Regions from separate parts of the Homo sapiens genome. Here region 1 is linked to region 2. The links are contacts of gene promoters, found by promoter capture Hi-C in human tissues and cell types (Jung and others, 2019). All regions are on one chromosome and are shown on one strand. Each heading gives the region's core, a stretch centred on a gene start or on the middle of the fragment in contact. The rest is flanking DNA. Distances are from core to core; before and after follow the strand shown. Region 1 has its middle 35 kb from the start of DISP1. Region 2 holds the start of TLR5 (toll like receptor 5).

Region 1 (4,444 bases), core at 610-3,109, 360 kb after region 2:
GTCTGGCTCTGTTGCCAAGGCTGGAGTGCAGTGGCATAATCTTGGTTCACTGCAACCTCTGCCTCCTGGGCTTAAGCCATCCTCCCACCTCAGCCTCTCAAGTAGCTGGGACTACAGGCACACACCAACATGCCTGGCTAATTTTTGTATTTTTTGTAGAGATGGAGTTTTGCCATGTTGCTCAGGCTGGTCTTGAACTCATGTGCTCGAGTGAACCGCTCACCTAAGCCTCCCAAAGTGCTAGCATTCAAGGCATGAGCCACAGCACCTGACCTCTTGTGACAGATTTTGACTAAAAGTCTAGTTTGTTTAATATAAATATAGCTACCCCTGCTCTCTTTTGGTTTCCGTTTGCATGGAGTATCTCTTTCCACCCCTACACTTTCAGTCTGTGTGCCCTTGAGACTAAAATGAATCTCTTGTAGTTAGCATATTATTGGATCTTGTTTATTAATCCATTCGGCCTCTCTGTGTCTTTTGATTAGCAAATGTAATCCATTTATATTTAGAGTAATTATTAATAAGTAAGGGCATACTGTTGCCATTTTGTTAATTGTTTTCTGACTGTTTTGGATATGTCAACAAAAGCACTAGCGACAAAAGCAAAAATAAACATATGGGACTATATCAAACTGAAAAGCTACTGAACAGCAAATGAAATAATCAACACAATGAAAATGCAACCTGTGAAATGGGAGAAAACATATGCAAACTATATATCTGATAAAGGGTTAATATCAAAATGTACAACAAACTCCATAGCAAAAAAATAAGTAACCCAATTAAAAAATGGGCAAAAGACCTAAATAGGCATTTTTCCAAAGATGACACACAGATTGCCAACAGATATATAAAGAAGTGCTCAAAATCACTAATCACCAGAGAATTCTAATTAAAACCACAATGAGATATCACCTCACATCTCTTAGGATGGCTATTATCAAAAAGAAAAAAGATAACAAGTGTTGACAAGGGCATGAAGAAAAGGGAACCTTGTATACTGTTGGTGGAAATACCAATTGGTACAACTATTATGGAAAACAGTATGGAGGTTCCTCAAAAAATTAAAAATAGAACTACCATATGATCAAGCAATCCCACTTCTGGGTATATATCCAAATGAAATGAAATCAGTATCTTGAAGAGATATCTATATCCCCATATTCGTTGCAGCATTATTCACGATGGCCAAGATATGGAAACAACCTAAGTGCCCATTGACAGATGAATGAGTAAATAAAATGTGTTAGATACAATGAAAGATTATTCAGCCATAAAAAAAAATCCTGTCATTTGTGACAGCATTGATAAACCTAAAGGATATTATTCTAAGTGAAATAAGCTGGACACAGAAAGACAAATACTGTATGACCTCACTTGTATGTGGAATCTCAAAAAGTTGAACTCAGGGGCAGAAAGTAGAATGGTGGTTGCTAGGAGTTCGAAGTGGAAAAAATGGAGAGATGATGGTCAAAGAGTACAAACTTTCAGTTTTAAGATGATAAAGTTCTGGGGATCCAATGTATAGCATAGGTGGTAATAGATGGGTTAATTTGATTGTCCATATCACAATGTATATGCATATGCCTCATCACATTGTACACCTTGAGTATATACAATATTTGTCAATTAAATATTTTAAAATAAAAGAAAAAAGAAAAATCATAATTTATTTTAGAACTATATCTCAGTATTTAAATTAGTATCCTCGTATATTTTTTATCGTTCCTACTAAATAGAAAATCATAGCCTGGCGTGGTGGCTCACACCTGTAATCCCAGCAGTTTGGGAGTCTGAGGTGGGTGGATCACTTGAGGTCAGGAGTTTGAGACCAGCCTGGTCAACATGGTGTAACCCTGTCTCTACTAAAAATACAAAAATTAGCCAGGCGTGGTGGCATGCACCTGTAGTCCCAACTACTCAGGAGGCTGAGGCACAAGAATCGCTTGAACCCGGGAGGAGGAGGTTGCAGTGAGCCGAGATAGCACCACTGCACTCCAGCCTGGGCGACACAGCGAGACTCTGTTAAAAAAAAAAATCAGTAATCATGTGGTAAATAATAATAATAATAATTATTATAAAAGAACAGGGAAATTCTTTAGTCTCCTTTTGTTTCCTATTACTCCTCTCCTCTGCCAAAATTTACAATCTGTTATCTATTCTTTCATGCTTCATTTGTATTCATACAATCACGTATAAACTATATATAATAAGCTTTTCTTTTCTAATTCATGTGTATTTTACAAAAATGGGATCATATTATCTGTATTCCTTTGTGTCTAGTTTTTTTTACTTTTTTTTTTCTCTTGATACATTATGGAATTTCCCTCAGTGGTATACATCCAACTCATTCTTTTTTTTTTTTTTGAGACGGGTTTTCCCTGTCACCCAGGCTGGAGTGCAGTGGTGCAATCACGGCTCACTGCAGCCTTGACCACCTAGGCTCAAGCAATCCTCCTATCTTAGCCTCCTGAGCCACCACACCTGGCTAATTTTTAAATTTTTTTGTAGGTACGGGATCTCCTTATGTGGTCCAGGCTGGTCTCAAACTCCTGGGCTCAAGCAATCCTACTGCCTTGGCCTCCCAAAGTGCTGGGATTACAGGAGTGAGCCATCATGCCCTGCTGCAACTCGTTCTTTTCAATAATTAACTTATATTCCATGGCTTAATTGTATCACAGTTTCTTCCACCATATTGAAAGGCATTTACTCAGTTTCTAATTTTTTGCTGCAACAAACAACGCTATGGTAAACATCTTTGCATGTATATTTTTACATATTGGAATTTCACTTATAGCAGATAGATTTCCAGAAGGATTTCTCCATCAGAGTATGTAAATTGTAAAATTTAAAATATATATCTGGATTGCTTTCCATAAAAGCTGTAACAATCCAAATTTCCCCTGGCAATATATGCACAGAATAGGTTTTTTTCACATTTTCATCAATAGTAAGTTTTTATTGTCTGCTAATTTGGTAGATAAGTTGAGACATCTCATTGTTACTTTAATTTGCATTTTCTCCACATTAGAAAATATTTTCATTGGTTTATTGACCATTTGCATTTCTCTTCTATAAATTGACTTTTTATATTTATTTGTCTCTATTTCTGTATTCTGTTGATAGTCAATTTATAGGAACCTTCTGACAGATATGCATATTCATTTTATGTGTGAGTTATTTTTGTGGCACATACTTTTTATCAATCTTTTTGTCTTGTGATTTTGTTTTTATTTTGCCATATAACATTTTATATTTTATATCATCGAATATATTTATTTTATATTTTATTGCCTCTAGGCTCTTGTCTTGATTAAAAAGGTTTCTCTCTCCAAACCCTAGCTTACACATATATTCTTTTAAAATTGTTCTATAGTTTTTGTTTACATATAGAGTTTAAGTTTTTCTGGAAATTTATTTTTGTATATGGTGTGAAGCAGGGATCCCAATTTTATTCTTCTCTAGGCCAGTTGTGTCATAACCAATTTAAAATAAACCATAGTTTTCCCATTAACTTGAAATAGCACTTTTGGCATACAGCCATGCATTGCTTAACAATGGGAATACGTTCTGAGAAATGCATCATTAGGTGATTCTGCCTTTGAGTAAACATCATAGAGTGCCCTTACATAAACATGGATGATAGAGCCTACCGCACATCTAGGCTATATGGTATAGCCCATTGCTCCTAGGCTACAAACCTGTACAGCATGTTACTGTACTGATATTGTAGGCAATTGTAACACTGTGGTAAGTATTTGTGTATATAAACATAGGAAAGGTATGGCAAAAATATAGTATTATAATCTTATGGGACCACTGTCATATATGCAGTCCATTGTTGACCAAAATGTAGTTATATAGTGCCTGACTATATATTCAGTTATCATATATATATACTGACATCTATTTCTGGACATTTTTTTCTCTTCTACTTTTCTTTTTGCCTATTACGATACCAATATCATAAGGTTAATACAAAGGCCAAGAAGGAGACAATGGAAGAATACTTTTTCTATTGTCCATGCCCTAGGTGTGTGGTAGGCTATACAATTTAGGTTTGTGTAAGTACACTCTGTGATGTTTGCACAATGACAAAACCACCTAATGATGCATTTCTCAGAACATATCCTCACTGTTAAGCAACATCTGACTGTATGCCAAAAGTGCTATTTGAAGTCAATGGGAAAACAATGGTTTATTTTATATTGGTTAGGACACAACTGGCCTGGAGGAAAATAAAGTTAGACCCCTGTTTCACACCATATACAAAAATCAATTTCCAAAAAAACTTAAAATCTGTATGTAAACAAAAACTATAGAACAGTTTTAAGAGAATACATGTATAAGCTTGGGTTTGAAAAGAACTTTTTAACCAAGATAGACCTAGAGGCAATAATACATAAAAACTATTCTCTTTGATGTATTGTTGATAGAAGTAAGC
Region 2 (4,127 bases), core at 133-2,632:
GGAGGCCATAACACCGTCTGGAAGGCTCCTCTCTCCCACATATTCACAAAGTTGCATGATAAGCCAGGCCCCTGCTGGTCTTGCAGCATCCACCTATGATGCAGAGTAAACAGTGCCACACGTCAAGCTGTCCCCAACCTTGCCCTCGGTTCCACTACCAAAAGAGGGAACACTGGGCTTGCCCCAGCAAGGTGTTATTTATGTCAGGCTAGGGCCACTGTGGCTCCCAGCTCTTACTGCTTTCTAGGTGCCCTTACAGACTTCCCCACTGCCCCCTGCATATGCCAGAGTGTGAACATCCCCTCCCTCTCCACAGCCCCCACAGTGGGGTTCGGGTGGGCAGGGAGGTGGTTTCATCCCTCTACATACAGCCCTTGGAGACCTACCTAGGCAATTTGTCACTCAGGCTTCAAGCTGCCAGCCGAGGAGGGGAGCTGAGAAGACTCTATAATGAGATCTTTGCACTGTAATTAAGTGCCAGGCTTTGTTTTACACCTATCTTTCCCGCCTTGCCCGATCCCACCGCCAAGCTCCTCCAGGCAGTGAGTGGGGAGTGTCAGCTGCTCTGTGATTACACCCCAAGTGGCAGGTGGCAGGGAGCTCCTCCGCCTGCAGTCTGCGCCCCACCCCCAGGCTTCCCCCACCACCAGTCTTAACTCAAGACAGTGCTATTTCTGTCCTTGAACTGGGTTTCACCCCAGAAAGCCACTCCACCGCTTTCTCATAAGGCTACCTCCTTTTAACCCTGTGGTTGCACGGCCTCTGGGGTGTCCATTTCTTTCTTTTGACACGTCCCTTTTCCTGAAAGTTTCAGCAAACCCCATAGGCAGAGGGAGTTAGAAAAAGGAAAAGAGAAGTTAGGGCAGGAGGAGCACTGTTCTTATAGGACAGGAAGGGTCTGTCTTCTCTCTTGGGTCCTCCACACAAAATCGGAGCTTCCAAACACCCCAGCTCCCAAACATATGCAGCAGATTCTGCTGACAGGAATGTGTCACTGTGATCTTCACATTTTAGCCTGAAGTTTAGCCTACCTGAAGAAGCACCGGAGTGGGAGTGGGAGAACATGGGATGGTGCTTCTCTTTGGCCTGGCTGTGCTTTTGGACACTTCAGGTCTTCGGCCTGGGTTTCCTCCTCCGTACGATGAGGAGAGGATGGGAGGGGGCAATGCTGGCATGTGTGATCTCGATAGACACTGTGGAAGTCTGCAGAGACCGGAGCATAACCTCTGCCTCCTCTCCCCGGGCCTAGCCTCTCACAGCCCTCAGAGAAAACCCTGAGCTGCGGCGTGGCCGAGACGGGGGCGTGGCCTGGCAGGTGGGCGGGCCCTTCCGTGGGCGGGGCCGCGAGGTTTTCAGGAGCCCGAGCGAGGGCGCCGCTTTTGCGTCCGGGAGGAGCCAACCGTGGCGCAGGCGGCGCGGGGAGGCGTCCCAGAGGTGAGCGCCCTGCAGCGGCAGGGGATGGGCCGGGGGCCCTAAGTCGTAGGCAGCGCGGGGCGGGGACGCGGCTGCCTGCGGAGGTCGGACTCCTCTCCGCCCTCCTCCCGGGCTGTCCGGGTCTATTTTCCAGTCTATGTCCAACTCGCGCCGCCTCACTAGGCGGCGCTCTCTGCCCCGCGGCACCCGCGAGACGTGGGGTCCCTCGGCCCAGGGACGGGGTGAGCGTGTCATGTGGGTGCCCTGTGCCCGGCAGGTTGGAGACGAAGAGACCTCGGCACAGACGAAGTCACTCACATCCTCGCTTTGAAACAGAGCGGGTCCTTCTTGTGCTGTCTCGCTGTCACTCTCGCCCCCACCCTGTGGAAGAGGCAGGTGGCTTGTCCCCAGTCACTTTCTTCCTTGGAAAAGGGAGACAGAGGGCCATCTCCAGCAGGGCCATGGAAATCCCAGAAAGTCACTGAGCTGCTCAACAAAAGGCCCTAAACACCCCACCCCACAGCACCAGGCAGTGCACACTGGCCAAGACTCCGTGGTAAATATTGCTGGCCTTTATGTTGAGAGGGGGAAAAAAAAGCCTGCCTGTGAAGATCATTGCCCAGTGGCCATGCTCCTGTGAAAACACAATTGGAAAGCCATTTCCTAAGGGGCGAGGGTGGGTCTGGGACCATGCTGTGGCTTGGGTGATTGGTGGTTGCAGGAGTGAGGGTGCTGCCCTGGGAAGGCGCTGAGGCCCTGTTGGGTGGGAATCGACGGCTGCGGCTTTCTCCCGGAGGAGGGAGAGCGGTGTTGTTACCTAGTGTTGGGAACACATCCGTCCAGCACCGTGAACTGCAAACAAGCAGAGTAACCCTAGTGTCCTTCAGATACTGTTGCTGAGCAGTCACCTAGTCAATGAGATGATCTGTTTGGACGGCAAGTGCATCTGTAATGCCGCCCTCTTGCTCAGTGCCTGGAAGAGGCATTGGTGACTCCCCGCTAATGCTAGGGGTAGCTACCGTGCAGGAGCAGTCAGGCTCTTGCAGGGCCAATGTGGTTTCATCAATTTTCTCCTGCATTTACCCAGCCCCTCCGAATTCTGAGAAGTGCGTCCAAGATCTCTTGGACTCCTTGACTCAGTTCACCCTTGTTCTTGTGGGCAGAAAACAATTCCCAGTGTGCCATGCACAGCCAGTCAGAAGGGAAGCCCTGGAGCAGGGCCCTGGGAGAAGTTCTGTGGGGCTGGATGCTAATTATTCAGTTACTGGATTGTGGGGAAATTCCAGGGGAGGTCCCAGAGGAGAGACCGTGCTAAAGCTAATTACTAAGCAGTACAAAAATAATCTCTCTCTCTCTCTTTCTCTCTCTCTCTCTCTCTCTCTCTCTCTCTCTCTATATATATATATATATATATATATATATATATATATATGTAATTTTTTTTTTGAGACAGTCTCACTCTGCCGCCCAGGCTGGACTGCAGTGACACAATCTCGGCTGACTGCAACCACTGCCTCCAGGGTTCAAGCGATTCTCTTGCCTCAGCCTCCCAAGTAGCTGGGATTACAGGTACCCACCACTACGCCTGTCTAATTTTTGTATTTTTAGTAGAAATGGGGTTTCACCATGTTGGTCGGGCTGATCTCAAACTCCTGACCTCAGGTGATCCGCCTGTCTTGGCCTCCCACAGTGCTGGCATTACAGGTGTGAGCCACTGTGCTGGGCCAAAAATAATCTAAATTTCAACAATCAGCATGACCATGCCTGTGCGTATGACCCTAATTATCAGTCTGACTGATTCTTCCTTCCAAAATGATGGCAGAGGATCACCTCTTTGGATATTTACAGCTCTGAGCAAAGCAAAAAGCATGTAGGTGCCATTGTCTGAATGCAAAACCAGCCATGCCAGGTTTTCGGTGTTGTTTCTGAGGAGGGAGCGCCTCTCTGGAGGACGGTGTTTCCAGAACAGTGCCTCCGTTGTTCATTCCCGTGCATCAGGAAGTTTGGCTCTGCTGAGTGTTGAAAGCAAAACTCTCCTGTTTATTTGTCTCTGTATACTAACAGACTTAAACAGCAGACAGCACTGGAATGTCCAGTTACTGCATCCAGATGTGTTTGTTTCACTCTTAACATTGTGGAAAAGAATGCAGAAGGCAGATCCAAAGCTTCAATCAGATTTCTGAAGCTTAAGTGATTCCCAGCCTTGGTCCCTTAATGTGAGAGCAACAGCGTATAGTGTCTTCCGCTCTCTGGGACAAACCCAAGTTTGAGGCATAGTCCCTGCTGTCCAAAAGCTCCTAGGTCTAAGTAGGAAGACAAAACCAGCACCTGTGAAACAATTAGAGCGCAATTAAGTGCGAAAGTATGTGGCAGCATCTGCTAGCTCAAAGAAGACAGCTAGTGCAGACTGACTGGGAAAGGAAGAGAGAGCTTCACAGAGCCAGCTGGTGTTCAGCTTGACTTAAGAATGACCATCAAGGGCTTGGCCAGGCCTAGGAAAGGAAGCATGAGGATATATGAAGCTCAGAATAATGAAAGGCACTTGCTGCCCAGAGCCAATTCAAATTCCTGCCTTCCGGGAATTCTGGCTGTGGGTCCTGCCACTCTCTTCCTCACCCAGCCATGATGCCCTTCTTATAGCATTCTAACCATGCCTTTTTTTTTTTTTTTGAGACAGAGTCTCACTCTGTCACCTAGGCTGGAGTGCATTTGTG

The links. The method cuts DNA at HindIII sites, captures the fragments that hold promoters and counts their contacts. A contact is called where the count stands out against the background at its distance.
Region 1: a fragment that was not itself captured here is called in contact with the fragment with the promoter of TLR5 in region 2 in 2 of the 25 tissues and cell types used here (mesendoderm cells and thymus).

The regions. Positions count from the first base shown.
Region 1 is chr1:222,777,326-222,781,769 of GRCh38, reverse strand. No RefSeq gene overlaps it. Among named protein-coding and RNA genes, the nearest start is that of DISP1, 35 kb to the left of the region's middle. The HindIII fragment of the contact is 7,196 bases long and covers 1-4,444 here.
Region 2 is chr1:223,140,503-223,144,629 of GRCh38, reverse strand. It overlaps TLR5 (toll like receptor 5), which reads left to right and starts at 1,382. Exons shown (of 6, transcript NM_003268.6): 1 at 1,382-1,434; 2 at 2,867-2,982. It overlaps LOC124904522 (a long non-coding RNA gene), which reads right to left and starts at 1,275. Exons shown (of 2, transcript XR_007066895.1): 1 at 1,032-1,275. RefSeq lists a silencer at 1,224-1,593. The HindIII fragment of the contact is 6,140 bases long and covers 1-4,127 here.